4 separate regions of the Homo sapiens genome follow, and regions 2, 3 and 4 are each linked to region 1. The links are contacts of gene promoters, found by promoter capture Hi-C in blood cells and fetal thymus (Javierre and others, 2016). All regions are on one chromosome and are shown on one strand. Each heading gives the region's core, a stretch centred on a gene start or on the middle of the fragment in contact. The rest is flanking DNA. Distances are from core to core; before and after follow the strand shown.

Region 1 (4,777 bases), core at 1,051-3,550:
ATAATAAATCCCCTATTTAGAAAAATGACTCTTATACCAATATGAGGAACGGACTCAAGTGAGTGAAGGTGGAGGCAGTGTGGAATATTGGGGGTATAAAATCTAAACTAAGAAGGCAAAAAAATTGCAAGAAGAGAACAGAATGAATGAAAGTTATTACAGAAAAAAAAATCAAAAGGACCCAACAAAATATATTGGATACAGAATATGAGAGTAGGAAAAATCTTAAATAGCTCTCTGTTTTGAGCCAGCGTAGCTAGGAAAAGTACTGCCATGAGAAATAGGTGACCCCTGACGAGGAGCAGGAAGAAATGAGGAAATCACTTTTAGAAGTGTCTTTGAGGAAATACCATAGGATATTCCTCTGAATATGCCCAGCAGGTAGCTGAACAAATGAAACTAGAGCTCAGGAATGAAATCAAGCTGTGCCACTTTGTTCAAAATCTCTGCATTCTAAAATCCTCCTTCCTGACCACTACCTTCTCTCCTCCATCACTTCCCACTCACGCTGAATCTCCTTACTCAATCTCTAGAGGTCTTAGGTAAGAGTTCTCAAACTGGCAGCCCCCCACGCATTGTATCACCCAAAGAATGTTTCAAAAATTTTCTGAATTAGTTGTCAACATTTAAAAATTGTAAGAGTTCACATAAATTTCAACTTCCAGCTCCTCTTGCAAAATTGGAAATATCTGAGGAAAAAGTGAGCCCATGTTCCCACATGGAAACAATAAGCTGAAGCCGAATAGCAGCTGGCGTTATTAGGGAAGGAGTATGGCTGGTCTCTGGAGACTTCTGAGCGTGGGACCTCCTAGGACCTTTGTTTCTTCCTTTGATCTCCATAGTCCATGAGTCAGATCCCAGCCTCACCTCCCTACCCCAGCCCAGACCCACGTGTATTTTAATCATATCAACATTTAAGGACTACTGTGCACCAGGCACGGAGCCAGAGAAACAAAGTTGAAAAGAAGGCACCCTCTGCCCTCTGTCTACCCTGTCAGCCTCATAACCAGCCACACCAGCATATTCTCAATTCCATGAGCCACATGTGCTTTCCCTGCATCCCAAGGCTTTGCACATGCTGTTCCTTCTGCCCCTACAGCTAAGCCCAAACCCCCTTCTCCTAATCATCCTTCAAGTCTCAAATGATATTTCCTCATGGAGGCCTTCCCAGACTCCCCATTAAGTAGCATACAATCATCCCCTTTCACGTGTTCCATGGCTCTTTCCCCCTTCTTGTACTTTCTCCATGTCTATCTCTAAGACCAGACTTCATCTTGTTCACCAATTAATTTCCAGCATCTAGCATAGCCAGACAAGTACTTCCATAAAACTTTCCATATGTCTCCTAGGCACGTTTTGTTCCAACATGGCTCATCTTGCCAGCTTCCCCCTGCTTCACTTCCTCCACTCTTGTTTCCAAGGTAGAATCGGACAGGCTACTGGGCACTCTCTTCTTAAATTTAAAACAGTTTTAAGCGGGAGGTGCGTGGATCAAATTCAGGATGTTAAAAGATTGTACTGACTGCAGAGTGGAGAAAAAAACAAGAAAAGTGGATGCGAAGAGACCAGTTAGATTACTTCAGTAAATCGCCACTCCAGTTCTAGAACAACTTGGGATTCTACACATCTAACTGCGGTGTTGTGTTACCACATTTCATGGCACTTTCCACGCCTTCACACACACAGCGGCAAACTACCGCGAAACCTCCGGACCCAGCTGCCCTCCACGAGACGCGTTCGGTGATATGCACTCCTCCCCAATGCGAGACTCCGAGACCCCAAACTCCCTCGGACTCTCCCAGTTGGGTCCAGGGCCACACTCGGCGCAGCCAAGCCCGCCCTACCCGAGGTCGCACACGGGCCGCTCCGGGGTCAATGGTTCTTTGGAGGACCAAGAGGACCAAGGCAACAGGGTAATTCATTAGGGGAGGATAGTTAAGAGGGAGCGAAAGGAAGAAGAAATCATGAAATGCAATGCCCGGCCAGGGAACTCCGAACAAGGAACAGGGAACAAGGTTTACCAAGGCGAATCCTGGAACACTCCCACTACAGCTGCCCCCAGCGCTTCAACTACCGGCTTAAATGAACCACGCCCCTTGCGCGACAAAGAAAACGCACTATTCCTGCGACCAGCTGGGGAAGCACCCCGCTACCTTTTACCAGACCAGCCAATGAGTTCAGTGAAACCTTCGATCAAGACAGTCACGCTCCGAGTGGCCAATGAAATTGAAGGCTCTGCCCTCCATGCCCAACTCTGATTGGCTTACAATCCAGGAACAGGCGTTAACCCAGGGAAGGCAGTGGCAAGATGGCGTCCCTGGATCGGGTGAAGGTACTGGTGTTGGGAGACTCAGGTGAGCGGCTTACCCTACCTCTGGGGCTCCAGACACTTTTGAGTTACCCAGTAACCCTCCCCTTAGCTTCCTTCCCTCAACTTCCTGGCTCCTCGGCCCGTGGCTGAAGTCCCTCCCAGGGCCTGAAGACTACACTTCCCAGGGGACTTTGCTCCGTGTGACGACGCGGTGGCGGCGGCGTCGTCGCGCGGGTGGGGGTCGCGGAGCCCGGGTCTTTTGCCTTCGCGGCTTTCCGCATCGGTCTCCCAGGCGACCCCAGCCTAGAGTGTATTGTCAATTCTTTTATTAAAAAAAAAAAAAAAAAAAGCAGGCATTGAGTATTGTATGGGGTTCTATGTTAAGGGTACAGAAGTTAGTAGGACCGTGCCTTCAAGAGATTTTGTTCATTAAGGAAGTCAAACGTGCACTGAGAAACGTGCACTGAGAAACGTGCACTGGCAAGCGCTTCGCATGTATTAACTCATTTAATTCTGAGACAGTCCTGTTATCCCATTTTACAGATGAGAGTAGTGAGGCAGAGAGATGTAAATGACAGAATCCTTTTGAACGCGGAGTCCACGAACTTAAACGCTAAGTTATAATTATGCAGTGACATATTGGGTAGTGGTCCTGTTTTATTCTTAACTGAGCTTAATTTCCTGGTTCTCGTTTGATCTTCATTGAAAACCTATTATGTCCTAGACTGTACAATAGAGAAATTAAAGTAAGAGTTTTATTCTGAAGCAGCTAGGATTTAACGCTGAGCCCAATTTAATCCTAGTGTTAAATATATATATATTTTTTTAATCTCAGTGGATGCAAAAAGAATTCTTTTGACACCTGGGACATTTGAGAACTACAGCTGGCGTCTGGATTTCCAGCTCCCACCTCACTGCCCTTATCTTTTCTTCCATAATCCCCAATTCAGCTCTCCTTAGTAACTTCAATAAATGCTGACCTTGCATTTTATAGAAGCGCTCCTCTGGAGTTGGCCTAAGAGCATGTGTTGTGAGCAAAGACGTTGTGCTAGATGCTTGGAGGTGGAGAGGCTTGAAAACTTAATAGAAACTAAATAAAATTGTGGGCAGCAAATATAGGTTAAGAATGTTTTCACATTGCCCTGAGGATTATTTGCATTATGAAATATTTTACAGAGAGCATTATTTAATATTCCCCTAAGAAAGTTGCCTTTTGAAACTTAATGAACATAATCACAATTTATGTCGACTTCATTTCTATCAGGTAGCTTGAAGTGGTGCCGAAGTTAATTTAATAAAATCACTCAGTTTTACAGATAAAGTAATTGTGGCCTAAAGGGACTTGGCAAGAGTATCACTGAGTAGAATTTACAATCCAGAACTAACAGACTTCTTCATGATACGTTAAGTGGGTGTTTTGTGTCCTTTATAATTCCATTTTCTATTGTATCTAACAATCCCTTCATATTACAAACTGTTGCAACTAGTCAATTTATTTTCTTTCCAACAGGCACTGTATTAGGTTCTGGGGTTATAACTGTGGAATTAATGCGTCATATAACAGGGATAGAATTAGCAGCTACATTAAATGTGGAAAAGTAATCAGGCAATTGATAAGCTTCCCTACTGCCCGCCTCCCCTGTTATGGTTTAGTTGTAAAGCAGAAGACACAGCTGTGATGGCCAGGAAAGTGATTGATGTTGTCACACATTCACTAATGTTAACCTTTATGTGCAAAGTTAGTTATTGTCTTTTTATCTTTTTAAAAGGTAATTTTGTCAGTCTCCTTTTAACTGCGATTTAAAAGTACACAGTCTGACAGTTTAGAATGCACTTTTTACACTTCCTCAGCCTTTCTTTCAAACCCGAAAGTTTATTTTTAAATAAAGGCCATTTCCCTTATAAAATTTTGAGGGTTTCACAAATATATAAAGAAATGACTTAGCCAGACAAGGTGGCTCTAGCCTATAATCCCAGCACTTTGGGAGGTTGAGGCGGGTGGATTGCTTGAGCTCAGTTCAAGACTAGCCTGGGCAACATGGCAAGACCCTCTCTCTACCAAAAACAGTACAGAAAGTTAGCCGGGCATGGTGGTGCACGCCTGTAGTCCCGCTACTCAGGAGGCTGAGGTGAGAAGATCACTTGAGCCCAGGAATTTGAGGCTGCAGTGAGCTAGGATCGTGCCACTGCACTCTAGCCTGGGTGATAGAGTGAGACCCTGTCTCCAAGAAAAAAAAATAAAAAGAATAAGTTGATATTTGGTGATTTGTTTTTATCCTATTGAGATATTTGGTAATTTGGTAAGGAACCCTGAAAGTCTCACTACCATACGGTTTTCTCTTTCTTTCAGAGATTAGGGACTAGTTTAACATATTACCAAACAGCTGTATTTGGAGCTGACATTTATTTATATTGGGCCTTTTTTACCCCCAAGCAAATCAAGTGCATTCTTTTGATCAAATTTAG
Region 2 (4,326 bases), core at 1-2,500, 1.1 Mb after region 1:
AAGAAGCCGCTGAAGCCCTGCTGCGCTTGCCCGGAGACCAAGAAGGCGCGCGATGCGTGGTCAGTGCGCAGCCGGAGAGGGCGCGGCCGACGAGCCCCGGGCCGCGGCCTGTGCCTTCCGGTGCCTCTGCCCTACGGCCTCTGCCCTCTGCCTTCTGCCCTCTGCCCTCTGCCTTCTGCCCTCTGCCCTCTTCCTTCCCCCCTTCCCCCACTCCTCCTCCCTGTCTGCCCCCCCCCCCCGCCCCGCCCCGCCCCGCCCCATTGCGGCGCTCTGGAGATAATTATTGGGCCTTGTAGGTTTCGTGGTCGGGTCTCTGTTGACTTATCCCGTAGCTTAGTACCGGGAAACGATGGAGAGAGAGGAGAACGGCAAGCTTCAACCACTCATTCCTTCCTACAAATGTGTGTTGAGTATCTGTTATGGGTTAAGCACTGCGTTAGGTCCGAAGATGTAGACATGGATAAAGATGCATCTTGATATAAAGGAGCTTAAAGTTAATGGAGACATAAACCAGTGACTTGTATACGACGTGGTAAGGGCTATGATAGATTTGTTAAGACCAAACAGGAAAGGTTTTCTGGTAATTTCTAAGGCTTTCTCCCAAAATTTAGAGACAGTAGGACACAGAGTGTATTCCTTACAGTTCTGAAGAGTTACGCTTCAACCCTTTTAAGACAACCAAAAGTTGAAAATCAATCAGTCTACGACGCAGGGGACAAAGTATTAAGAATAGTTCATCTAGATTGTCAATCCACAAAAGATTTGTTCTCATTTTATATAGCCTCTCTTGTGGAGCAAATCTCATTAGAGGACGTCCTCAGATAACGTGAATGTGCATCTCTTCCTCTGGCCCCTTTTGTCTTCCCAGATAGTAGATATAAGAAAGAAATCATTAGTGGTATAATGGGATAATAAGAGTGTAGGAGCTCAGTGCTTTTATTAATCCTCAGTACTTTGTAAATAATACGGGTAGGATTGAAAGACTAGTCTGAACAAATTGTTCCAGTGGTAACAGTAAGTGCTGTTGAACCTTGAATGGTATGACAGCATGATTAAGAGTCTGGGATCCACAGTCAAGGTTTGAATCTTAATCCACTAACTTGGTGACCTTGAGCCTCATGTGTCTGTAAAATGACTCTAATAAAAGAAACTCCCTCCAGTATTATTGTAAAGGTTAATGATACAAGCCATGTCAAGTGGCTAACACAGTATACATGGCAATAAATGATCAATGAATGCTAGCTATTATCTTCACAATGATCTCACTATCCCAGGCAATCTCCCATTTGCAGGCAGCTCTTGAGCTATTGAAGGATGGGTAGAGTTTCCATGGAAGGAGAACCTATTCCCTTTGTTAAATTCCCTTTGCCTCGATTGCCTCAGACCACGTGGGTTCTCCCCAAATATCCATAGTCAGGAGTCAGTTTTTCCTTGTAATTGAATTGGGCTTAACTTGATTATTTGCAAAATCACATTTTCAGGCCTTAGAAATAAAGCTGTGTAGTCCTAGTCTTTACTTTGTGAATTTTACAAGTAAAATATTCTTTGATCATCATGAGGGGGTGTTTATCTCGGTCTCCTGGCTACCAGATGTTTTTGATGTAATTAGAAGTAGATTTATTTGGTTGTGTTTGAATGTAGGGCAAAATCAGAAAGTTAATTTCTCTGTGATAATAAGCAAAAAATTGAGCTGTTCTCTGTGCCCTTCATTTAGCATAAATATTTTACTCAGTTTATTTCTTTATAGAGCAGTGTTACTCCTTGGATATTGACTAGAGGCAATATTTAATATGCGTGATTATTTCTTATCAGATTTCCCCCCCAAAATCACTTATCTGTGGAATGTCTTCATAGGCATGGGCATATCATAAGATCAAATAAAAACAAAGCTGTTTGAGGTAATAGCGTTTGTTTTAATTCCAGCTACATTCCATTATACCCGTGTTTTGTCTCACTCCCCATCACTATCATGCATACTTAATAATGTGCTTAATGCATATTTAGATAACAAGTACATTTTGTTTTATAGTATCATCGAGAAAGGAGAAGAACACTGTGGACATCTAATTGAGGCCCACAAGGAATGCATGAGAGCCCTAGGATTTAAAATATGAAATGGTAAGCTTCTTGCTTCAAAGTTGTGTATTGCTTTACAGATTTAGCAACAATTGGGCTACATTCTCTCTGAAAGGTAGTTCACCTGGTTAATCTAAAATGCTTAAGTATCAATTTGAAAAAACCATGATTTTTCAGTTCCCAATGAAGGGAGTAAATTATGTCAGTAAAGACAGTCATTTAGCGGATTGGGGAAGGGGAGAATTGAGCTTTTAAGAAAGGGTTTGACAAAAGCCTTTAGGTCCCATGGCTTTAGGAAAATTGACTGAGGGAACTAAAAGAAACATATTCTCTTTCTTGTTTCTAATAAATATTGTGGGACTTCAGTAAATGCTTTTTTTTTTTTTTTTTTGAGACAGGGTCTCACTCTGTTACCCAGGCTGGGGTGAAGTGGCCCAATCACAGCTCATTGCAGCCTCAACCTGGGAGGTTCAGGTGATCCTCCCCTCAGCCTCCTAAGTAACTGGGACTACAGGTGTGGGCCACCGTGCCTGGCTAATTTTTTGTGTTGTTTTTTAGAGATGGGGTTTCACCATCTTGCCCAGGCTGGTCTCAACCTCTTGGACTCAGGCAATCCTCCTGCCTTGGTCTCCCAAAGTGCTGGGATTAAGAGGTGTGAGCCACTATGCCTGGCCAAGAAATGCTTTTAAGTAGGGAGTGGGTATCCCACGGAAGTATTGCTTTCTGAAAAATGAAAATGGAATTGTAGCATGCTTTATTCGAATAAAACTAAAGCCTCAGGCCATTTTTTTTTTAATTAAAAAGTAAACTTTAATGTCAAAAATGCAAACTTGGGGAAGACAGAAAAGATCACACACAAGGCTGTCACTTCACACTTGGAAGGTTGCACAGCGGCCGGGCAGAGGTGCTCCTCACTTCCCAGACGTGGGGCAGCCGGGCAGTGGTGCTCTTCACTTCCCAGACAGGGCAGAAGCCGGGCCGAGGCACTCCTCACTTCCCAGACAGTGGGCAGCTGGGCAGAGACGCTCCACACTTCCCAGACGGTGGGGCGGCCAGGCAGAGGCGCTCCTCACATCCCAGACAGGGCGGCAGCTGGGCAGAGGCGCTCCTCACATCCCAGACGGGGCAGCAGCTGGGCAGAGGCGCTCCTCACTTCCCAGACGGGGCAGCAGCCGGGCAGAGGGGCACCTCACTTCCCAGATGGGGTGGTGGCCAGGCGGAGAGGCACCTCACTTCCCAGACGGGGTGGCCGGACAGAGGTACTCCTCACTTCCCAGACAGTGGGCAGCCGGGCAGTGGCACTCCTGACATCCCAGACAGGGCGGTGGGCCTCAGGCCATTTTTAAAAGAACTTGGAACTCTTAACCCATTTTAAGTGCTGAAAGGGACCTTAAGTGGTATGTGTCCAACAATTCCACAAACAAATGATACTCTTTTGTTTGGAAGCTCTTTCTTCAGTTATCAACTTAGCTCACCCCCTCACCCCACTCCCTCTTTACTCAGGTCTCTTTCAAAAGTCTCCTTATTAGAGAGGCTTTCCCTCAACACCCCATGTAAATTACATCCCTTCCCCATCACTCTATCATGGTGCTGTCCTAAGACCTTTCTGTGAAGATGGAAATGCTCTGTATCTGCACTTGCCAGTCTGGTAGCCACTAGCCATATGTGGCTGTTGAGCACTTGAATTGTGGCTGGTGAGAGTGAGGTACTGAATTTTTAGTTTGTAAAAATTTTAATAGCTACATGTGGCTAGTGGCTACTCTATTCTATACACTGTCACCTGCATGATACATATATTTTTAATTACCTGTGTTGCTTCACGGCAGCTAGAATGTAAGCTCTGAGAAAGTAGGAATTTTCTATTTCATTTACTGTCATATCCCCACTACCTATAACAGTGCCTGGCTCATAGTAGGTGCTTAATGGAGGATTGTTAAATGAATGAATAAATAAGGAAATTAAAGCTTATAGTTATGAAATGGCCCCCAAGGTGGGTTGTGCAGTATCAGAACTGGAGCCTCAGTCTCCATGCCGATTCCCTCTGCTTTTTGCCCCTACCCTAACTTCCACACCACACTACCACTTTTAACTTAATAACAGCTGAGAGAGAATGCCAAAGCCATATGCCAATATATTAGTACTAGAGAGCCTGGCTTCTTTCCCTTGCACCTCTTTCCTGCCTCTTTGGAATTTCACATATGGCCAGTCTTCCTCACTGAGCTATAAAAAAGGAGGGATAAGGAACTTGTC
Region 3 (4,587 bases), core at 1,232-3,731, 1.2 Mb after region 1:
CAGGCACTTTAACATTAGTACTTCCACTGTTATTAAGTACAGACTTTATTTCTTTACTCTGACACCTTAAAACAACCCTCCATCCCCACAACCTAATTGAATGATTAAGTGTAAAGTGAATTACTAAGTCAGTGTGCCCCAAATTTCTTTAGATCACCAGTACATACCACAGCATCAAACCGGTTATGATAAATTTCTGCCTGGCTCTGCTCAATGTATTGTTGTTTAGCATGAATAAAAGCTGGTATTCCCCCATACACCCAGCCAATGATGCCTGCTGTAGCTGCCGTCTTACAGATATTAGCAAGGTCCTTTGAAATTCTCTGCTGTTCACTACAACATCAAAAAGACAATGTTGTTTGGGATTAGTTTATGGACATTGCTCTCCAAGAGACTCTATAATCAGAATTAACCCAAATGCTACCACCACAACATTTTTCATCATAGGTAGAATTCTCAGATGAATTAAACAGTTCAGTTATATTAAAAGGAACGTAGTCTCAGACAAAACGAAGCTATGGTGTTAGAATTAGGATAGTGGCAACTCCTGAAAAGACAATGACCGGAAAAGGCACAAGGGGAGCTTTTGGGATGTTACAATAGTTGCCATTTCTTTCTTAGTGCTGGGTACAGCTATGTTCAGTTTGTGAAAATTCATCCATCAGTATACTTAGGCACATTTTTCGAAATGCATTTCCTACTCCAATAAAAAGTTTTTTAAAAGGTGCTTTTGATGACTATTACACCCCTAGAAATAGGAAGAATTTGTGAGTTGGATAGAGAGACCAATATTTCCGTTTAAATCTTAAGTTAACTTTTAGAAATCACACCAACTCGTGAGATTTTAGGGCAATGTATGAAAGAATAAAAACGTGGATGTAAGACAAAAAATCTAAATTCTATTTTACTAAATAATTTCATGAAATACTCAGATAGGACTGTACTAATAAAAGCACTGGGCTGGGCACAGTAGCACACGCCTGTAGTCACAGCTAACTTAGGAGGCTGAGGTAGGACTTGAGCCCGAGTTCAAATCCAGCATAGCAACATAGCAAAGATCCTGGCTCTAAAAATAAACAAATAAATGTTTTTTTAAAAACGCACTGGGAAAGTTCACTATGCAGTGGGTGGCACATGCCAATCTAAAATAACAAGGAAAAACTACTATTTAATTCGATTTGTTACTCTCAAATGCATAAGAAGCTAGAACTGCTAATGAAGCTTCCAAGATGTCATCCTGAGACTGCTCTAACAAATAGCTGTCTTAAGTATTAAGTTACTATAAAATAATTGCCCTTCTAGGCCGGGCGCAGTCCAGCCGCGGTGGCTCAGGCCTGTAATCCCAGCACTTTGGGAGGCGGAAACAGGCAGATCACGTGAGGTCAGGAGTTCCAGACCAGCCTGGCGAATGGTGAAATCCTGTCTCTACTAAAAATACAAAAATTAGCTGGGCATGGTAGTGGGCAACTGTAATCCCAGCTACTCTGGAGGCTGAGGCAGGAGAACCGCTTGAACCTGGGAAGTGAAGAGTGCAGTGAGCCAAGATCGCACCACTGCACTCCAGCCTGGGCGATAGAGCGCGACTCAGTCTCGAAAAAAAAAAAAAAAAGAAAGAAAAATACGAGTTTGGGCTGGCGCGGTGGCTCACGCCTGTAATCCCAGCACTTTGGGAGGCCGAGGTAGGCGGATCGCCTAAGTCCAAGAGTTCAAGACCAGCCTAGGCAACATGGTAAGAACCCTGTCTATAAAAAATACATTAAAAAAAAATTAGCCGGGCGTGGTGGTGCGCGCCTGTAGTCCCAATTAATCGGGAGGCTGAGGTGGGAGGATCACTTGAGTCCCAGAGGCAGAGGTTGCAGTGAGCCGAGATAGCACCACAGCACTCCAGCCTGGGCGACAGAGCAAGACCCTGTCTGGAAAAAAAAAAAAAAAAAAGAAAGAAAAAAGATACAAGCTTGGGTTACAAATATCAGAACCTCAAATATAATCTAAAAATGAAGCACACCATCCTTGGTGTCCTAAGGCTGACCCAGGCTGCCCACGCTGCAGGACACCGCTTTCGCGGCCCCCTACCCCACTTCACACCCTAGGCACTTTTACTCTTTGCCAAACAGCTCCCGGAGGCGGTCCCATCCAGATTCCGGGTAATAGGGCTCTGGGACGTAGGGAAGCCGCTTCTGACGCTCCTCAAGGACTTCCGAATCGGCAGTCACAGCTTCGGCAGCAAAGACTCGGGGAAATAGGCACAATGCTCTACAGAGAAAGCTCCGCGGTGCCGGTGGCGGCACCTCCATGGCCTTCTCTCGACCTACGGACAAACTTGAGCGCTCAGGACTTCAAGTCCTCGCGGACGTGCCGCGGGAGAGCGTAACTGTACGAGGTGAGAATCCGTGCATTTGACCCAGGTTAACCCTCTGCCAGAGGGCTCGACACCCACACCTTCAGTCCCCGGCCTCGCTTTGGAGTCCTTGGAAATACGACACAGGAAGTCCCGCCCGACCGGGGCAAAGGCCAGGGGGCGGGGCGACGGCGAAGCCGGAGCCCAAAAGACTTCCGGTTGAGGGCGGGTTGGGCCACTGCTGTGCTGAGTGCACCCCCGGAAGTGAGTTGGCTGCCAGTAGTGAAGCTCAGCGTGGTCCCGGCAGGCCTTCGCTCCGTGTTTGTGGTTCCTGGGTCATGCAAACGGTGTCTGCGGCTACTTATATTCAGCTTGAGGTGGTCATAGGTTGAAGTAATTTATCGTATTTAAAATGCCAGGAATTAGCCGGGCATGGTGGCGGGCGCCTGTAATCCTAGCTACTCGGGAGGCTGAGGTAGGAGAATCGCTTGAACCCGGGAGGCGGAGGTTGCAGTGAGCCGAGATCACACCACTGCACTGCAGCCTGGGCAACAAGAGCGAAAATCTGTCTCAAAAAAAAAAAAAAAAGGCAGGAATCCCGCTTCAGTAAGGAAGAAAGTGCAATATTCAGTGCAAGTGGAGTAGGGAAAGAGGGAAAGGCGATTTGTGCAAAAACAAGTCCAACCTACTCTGCCAACATTAGAGAAGCCTTCCAGGCTGGGCGGGGTCCGTTTGTACCTTGTCAGTTCTGCTGGAAAAAAAACGAGGCATTGGGGATGGGTGTTGGTGCCAGTTACACTAAGATTTCGAGAACACTTTTTTGAAGAATCAGCTTTTTGGCAGGTCTTCCTAAGGTGGATTTCACTCCCTTTAGTTCATATGCCTACTGCTTCTCAAAAGGCAGGAGAATTTCTGGAATTTCTATCAAGTGTTTGTATAATTTGCCGTCACTACAACCTCTGCTAACATATGCTTCGAAGTACAGTTTTCATTAAAATGAATGCATTTAAAATATTCTCAATATTCGTGTAATTTCATTCAATCCTTGTTAACAAGCATACTCCCTTATTCATTTTGCCAATCCCTTCACCTCCTTGATTCCTTTCTAGTTGTCAATCAAAACTGCCACACTGTAGTAGAATACAGTAAGTGGACTTAGGAATTTGATAGCTGGAAATGCTACACATAAGTCCCTGAGAAGTGACTGACTAGAGTGACCAGCTCAATTAGTGACAGCGCCATGAAGACTACTCTGGGATATGAGATTTGATTCAGCACTCATCGTAGCACTTACAACACTGCATCATAATTTCCTATTAATCTGTCTCAATAAACTATCCTTGAGATCACAGACCAAATATATTCATCTCTGTATCTCCAGGACCTAGAACCGCAGTAGGTGCTCAGTAAATATTTGTTGAATAATTCAGATCTCCTGACTTCTGGCTCTGGATTACTGCTTATCCCATGTTAGGTAGAAGTGGGCACCAAGATAAGTTACCAAGGCCTGAAAGCCCAAGAAAATGGCTGTACAGTCTGTTTCTAACCTATATGTAGAAAAAGCTAAATGCATAAGATGACCCCAGAATTATTCTGGGGTGAAGGAGGACTTGAAATGGGTAGGAGGGTTTGGGTGGGTGTTGGGAAGATACTGACACAATCACTTATGTACAACTCAAATGCCCCAGGATTCACTAGCCTGTAGATGAGGTAATATTAACAGGCAAATTTTAAATTCCATAACTTGTTTCTCATTTGGGTAACGGAAGACTCATTTGTAATGTTCCTTTTGCCACCTGATAACTCAAAAAACTCCCCTCTCCTTTGGCTACTGCTCGCACTGTTGCTGCTCTTCCATCTGAGCCCTCCCACATTTCCTACTTCCCCAATCCCTTACGGCTTACCTTCTTTTAGAACAAGGGAAATGCTCACCCTCCTCTGTAGTCTGCTTATTTTATTTTATTTTTGATACAGTCTTAGCTTCGTCACCCAGGCTGGAGGGCAGTGGCAAGACCTCGGCTCACTGCAACCTCTGCCTCCTAAGTTCAAGTGATTCTTGTGCCTCAGCCTCCTGAGTAGCTGGGATTACAGGCATGTGCCACAAGCCTGGCTAATTTTTGTATTTTTAGTAAAGATGGTGTTTCACCATGTTGGCCAGGATGGTCTCAAACTTCTGGCCCCAAGTGATCTGCCTGCCTCAGCCTCCCAAAGTGCTGGGATTACAGGTGTGAGCCACCAAGCCCAGCCCT
Region 4 (4,316 bases), core at 1,817-4,316, 1.5 Mb after region 1:
AAAAACTAGAGCAACTGTTGGGTTTCTGGACTGATGCCAAAAAAAAAACCCCTAGGAAACAATTTTATTAATGCCAATGCCTCTCTGTGAAATGAAAGCCACCCTAAAACCTCAAAAGCAGATTGGAAAGCTATCTTTAATTTTGTAGATATCACTGCTACTTGCTTTCCTACACTTACTGAAAGCAATAACCCAACTTCTCCAATTAATAACCTACCAGCTACCAAATATAGAAAAGCTGAGTGATTCTTTTTTTTTTTTTTTTTTAGATTAACTTGCTTGGCTCCTTTATTATTCTCCTTTATTATTAAACTTCCTCAGCATAATGTGATTTGGGCAGACAGAGATGTTATCCTGTGGCTTATTGTTGGCCTACATTCTCTTTTTTTTTTTTAAATTTATTTTTTTTTTAGTATTTATTGATCATTCTTGGGTGTTTCTCGGAGAGGGGGATTTGGCAGGGTCATAGGACAATAGTGGAGGGAAGGTCAGCAGATAAACATGTGAACAAAGGTCTCTGGTTTTCCTAGGCAGAGGGCCCTGCCGCCTTCCGCAGTGTTTGTGTCCCTGGGTAGTTGAGATTAGGGAGTGGTGATGACTCTTAGCGAGCACGCTGCCTTCAAGCATCTGTTTAACAAAGCACATCTTGCACTGCCCTTAATCCATTTAACCCTTAGTGGACACAGCACATGTTTCAGAGAGCAGGGGGTTGGGGGTAAGGTTATAGATTAACAGCATCCCAAGGCAGAAGAATTTTTCCTAGTACAGAACAAAATGGAGTCTCCTATGTCAACTTCTTTCTACACAGACACAATAACAATCTGATCTCTCTTTCTTTTCCCCACATTTCCCCCTTTTCTATTGGACAAAACCGCCATCGTCATCATGGCCCGTTCTCAATGAGCTGTTGGGTACACCTCCCAGACAGGGTGGTGGCCGGGCAGAGGGGCTCCTCACTTCCCAGACGGGGCTGCCGGGCAGAGGGGCCCCCCACCTCCCAGACGGGGCGGCGGCCGGGCAGAGGGGCCCCCACCTCCCAGACGGGGCGGCGGCTGGGCAGAGGCGCCCCCCACCTCCCGGACGGGGCGGCTGGCCGGGCGGGGGCTGCCCCCCACTTGCCGGGCGGGGCGGCTGGCCAGGCGGGGGCTGCCCCCCCACCTCCCGGGCGGGGCGGCTGGCTGGGCGGCTGCCCCCCACCTCCCGGACCAGGCAGCTGCCCGGCGGAGGGGCTCCTCACTTCTCAGACAGGGCGGCCAGTCAGAGACGCTCCTCACCTCCCAGACGGGGTGGCGGCGGGGCAGAGACACTCCTCAGTTCCTAGACGGGTCGCCGCCGGGCAGAGGCATTCTTCACCTCTCAGACGGGGTGGTGGGGCAGAGGCGCTCCCCACATCCCAGATGATGGGCGGCCAGGCAGAGACGCTCCTCACTTCCTAGACGGGGTGGCGGCCGGGAAGAAGCGCTCCTCACTTTCCAGACTGGGCGGCTGGGCAGAGGGGCTCCCCACATCCCAGATGATGGGCGGCCAGGCAGAGACGCTCCTCACTTCCTATACGGCGTGGCAGCAGGGCAGAGGCTGCAATCTCGGCACTTTGGGAGGCCAAGGCAGGCGGCTGGGAGGTGGAGGTTGTAGCGATCCGAGATCAAGCCACTGCACTCCAGCCTGGGCAACATTGAGCACTGAGTGAGCGAGACTCCGTCTGCAATCCCGGCACCTCGGGAGGCCGAGGCTGGCAGACCACTCGCGGTCAGGAGCTGGAGACCAGCCCGGCCAACTCGGCGAAACCCCGTCTCCACCAAAAAATACGAAAACCAGTCAGGTGTGGCGGTGCGCGCCTGCAATCCCAGGCACTCGGCAGGCTGAGGCAGGGGAATCAGGCAGGGAGGCTGCCGTGAGCCGAGATGGCGGCAGTACAGTCCAGCCTCGGCTCGGCATCAGAGGGAGACCATGCAAAGGGGAGACGAGGACCGTGCAAAGGGGGGAGGGAGATGGGGAGGGAGACAGAGAGGGGGAGGGGGAGGGGAAAAGCTGAGTGATTCTTGCAAAAGGTATATATTATGCTTCCAGGCATCATATGCTCAAGACCTGGGGACTATGTGGGTATAAGTAACTGATTGTATAACGCCACTGGATGAAATCCAGTAATGTCCTTTTTCACTAAATGTGGTTATACACCCTTACAGCATGTTACAAAGGGAACACAAAAAAATAAGTTTCACACTGGACCTTGTTCAGGAGCAGTGTTGACCTATTTCACTGACCTATCCTCAACTGCCACTAGGTGGCCCTCTTTTCCAGCTTCCAAGGGCCTACATTGGGCCTATGCGGCCTCAGTATAGCCTCAGATTTCCTGCTATGAAGCTTAATGAGCCCAGCACTGGCTCTAGCTATGGTTTGTTCCTTTTTGGGTGGAGTGGATGTGTGGTTCTTGGAGAATCTACTACTTTCCCGTGAGTGCAGTGGGAGACTGCATTAGAGAATCTAGCTATCCTGACTGCCTAAACAGAGCCTACCATAATTTTTCACTCAAATCTTTAGTGTAAATATAATTGTCTTTGCTTTCTGTAATAATATCTTTGAAGAAATACGGATTTAAAAAAATCATTTAATATTCTCAGACCTGCAACATGGGAAAAATATTATTATTATTATTATCATTTTTGCAGTTGAGAGGGCTGAAATCTCGCAGGGTGATTAAGTTTATTAGCCTCTCTAAAGTCTCAGTTTCCCACTCTGTAAAATGGAAGGGTCCCTATCTCTTTCCTACTGCTTTGTGAGTATTTAAGGGGATGGAATTTGGGAAGCGCTCAGCACCCAGTCTACTATTGGCACAGGGTTTTAAAGCCACCCAGAGGCCGAGGCGTCAACCCTCCGTTTCCCTCCCGGTGCTCCTTCCAGCGCCCGGTGTGGTCGATTTGGCGGGGGTGGAGCGCCAGGCGCGTGCAGAGCCGGGCGGACCAGCCTCTCCGGCCAAGGCGGGAGGCGGAGCTCGTACTCAAGAGCCGCCTCCCGGGCGGCTGGGGCGGTCCCCGAGCTGCTTTCCGCGTTCTCCCCTCTCCGCGGGCAGTGCTAGCTCGCCGCGGCCGCCTCCGGGGTGAGTACGCTGGCTCCGCCGGCGCCCGGGAAATGCAGTTCCCTGGACACGGGCGCCGTGCGAGGGTAGCCGGGCGACGGCCGGGGTCAGTCCCAGGGCTGTAGCGGGGCGGGCGTGGGGATGACGTGGCGGCGTCCGTGGGGCAGTCCCGCCTCAGCCGGAGCGGTGGGCCGGGCCGGGGGCCTACGGAGGCCGAGCCTGGCGGGAGGCACCGGCTCAGGTGCTGGCGTTCCGCGCGGCGCCGCCTCTGCTGCGGGCCGGGGGAGCCAGACGAGGTGCTGCCGGGTAGGAAAAAATCCAGGGCTCATTCATACCCCAGGTCACGATTCCGGGGTCGCCCCCAGCACTTCTCCGCCGGGTGCATCAACCTGAAAAAGCCCCTTCTTCCTGGAAACCCTCCTTCTCCAGCGTTTCAACGGGGAAACTGATCAGCTGACACCAGCCCCAGTCCTGCGAGGGGCCGGCGACCTTTGACCTTTCTCCAAAGGGGTTGGTCACCTGGATTATAAAAGACTTCGGAGACAGCCATCCAGTGTTTGTTGATCTGTATCCCTTGATGTTCTGTCTTCCATTAGATAAGGGCTGTTAATTCTTGGTTTGAAAAAAAACAGACAAAGTCCAAAGGACTCTGCATCGAGGAGAGGCCTATGGGTTGGTAGCCTTAGGAGAGTAGTTATCAACAGTGGGTGGGTGTGCACACTGTTGCAAAGTGTTCCAGAGTGGGTGAGGGATGGGGACGTGGCGGTGGTGAGGGTACTGGTAGACCTCCTCAGCCGTTTGGTGATGAAAAGGAGGAAAAAGAAAATGGTAATCTGAGCGTGGAGGCGAGTTGTGGCTTTTTTTTTTTTTTTTAAATTTTTAAAGAAAGGAAAATAACACCTTTAAGATGCAAGAAAATCAAGGAGAGATCAGGATGAATAGGATTCAGGGTCCGGATTGAGAAACTGGGATTCAGAAGGGAGGGCTATTCCCGAGACCCAGGCGGGGAGTGCTGGAAGGTCTCTCTTGGGAGAGGAGATAATGCTTGATTGGATATAGTTCAGAAGTTTTTGGAATTTTGTCTTCTAGAGCAGGTTTGTTCTTTATGGAAATTGTAAACCCCATGAAATTGCAATAACTTTCGTCTACCTATAGCTTTGATCAGATTGAAAACATACGTTGTGAAAAAGTACTGACCTGGATTGAACTGTTTGACTACATAATCTAAGGGGAAGTGGATAGA

Evidence for each region. Contacts are between HindIII fragments. The CHiCAGO score rates a contact against its expected background, and 5 or more counts as called.
Region 2: a contact is called between a fragment that was not itself captured here and the fragment with the promoter of RABL3 in region 1, in 1 of 17 cell types (total B cells). The highest score is 5.1, in total B cells.
Region 3: a contact is called between the fragment with the promoter of TIMMDC1 here and the fragment with the promoter of RABL3 in region 1, in 5 of 17 cell types (neutrophils, non-activated CD4 T cells, total B cells and 2 more). The highest score is 9.7, in neutrophils.
Region 4: a contact is called between the fragment with the promoter of B4GALT4 here and the fragment with the promoter of RABL3 in region 1, in 1 of 17 cell types (monocytes). The highest score is 6.5, in monocytes.

Annotation. Positions count from the first base shown.
Region 1 is chr3:120,740,039-120,744,815 of GRCh38, reverse strand. RABL3 (RAB, member of RAS oncogene family like 3) reads left to right here and starts at 2,300. Exons shown (of 8, transcript NM_173825.5): 1 at 2,300-2,354. The coding sequence starts at 2,309. It overlaps GTF2E1 (general transcription factor IIE subunit 1), which reads right to left and starts at 2,072. Exons shown (of 5, transcript NM_005513.3): 1 at 2,022-2,072. RefSeq lists enhancers at 2,020-2,139, 2,020-2,314, 1,762-2,400, 2,280-2,569, 2,401-3,039. The HindIII fragment of the contact is 8,742 bases long and covers 1-3,931 here.
Region 2 is chr3:119,672,937-119,677,262 of GRCh38, reverse strand. It overlaps COX17 (cytochrome c oxidase copper chaperone COX17), which reads left to right. Exons shown (of 3, transcript NM_005694.2): 1 at 1-59; 2 at 2,030-2,118. The coding sequence ends at 2,114. Among named protein-coding and RNA genes, the nearest start is that of COX17, 2.3 kb to the left of the region's middle. The HindIII fragment of the contact is 1,750 bases long and covers 376-2,125 here.
Region 3 is chr3:119,496,441-119,501,027 of GRCh38, reverse strand. It overlaps TIMMDC1 (translocase of inner mitochondrial membrane domain containing 1), which reads right to left and starts at 2,481. Exons shown (of 7, transcript NM_016589.4): 1 at 2,101-2,481; 2 at 168-333. The coding sequence starts at 2,294. RefSeq lists an enhancer at 2,692-2,741. The HindIII fragment of the contact is 2,873 bases long and covers 1,957-4,587 here.
Region 4 is chr3:119,239,628-119,243,943 of GRCh38, reverse strand. It overlaps B4GALT4 (beta-1,4-galactosyltransferase 4), which reads left to right and starts at 3,066. Exons shown (of 8, transcript NM_003778.4): 1 at 3,066-3,094. All of the region lies in intron 3 of B4GALT4-AS1 (B4GALT4 antisense RNA 1), which reads right to left. RefSeq lists silencers at 2,200-2,249, 2,900-3,379. The HindIII fragment of the contact is 11,429 bases long and covers 2,364-4,316 here.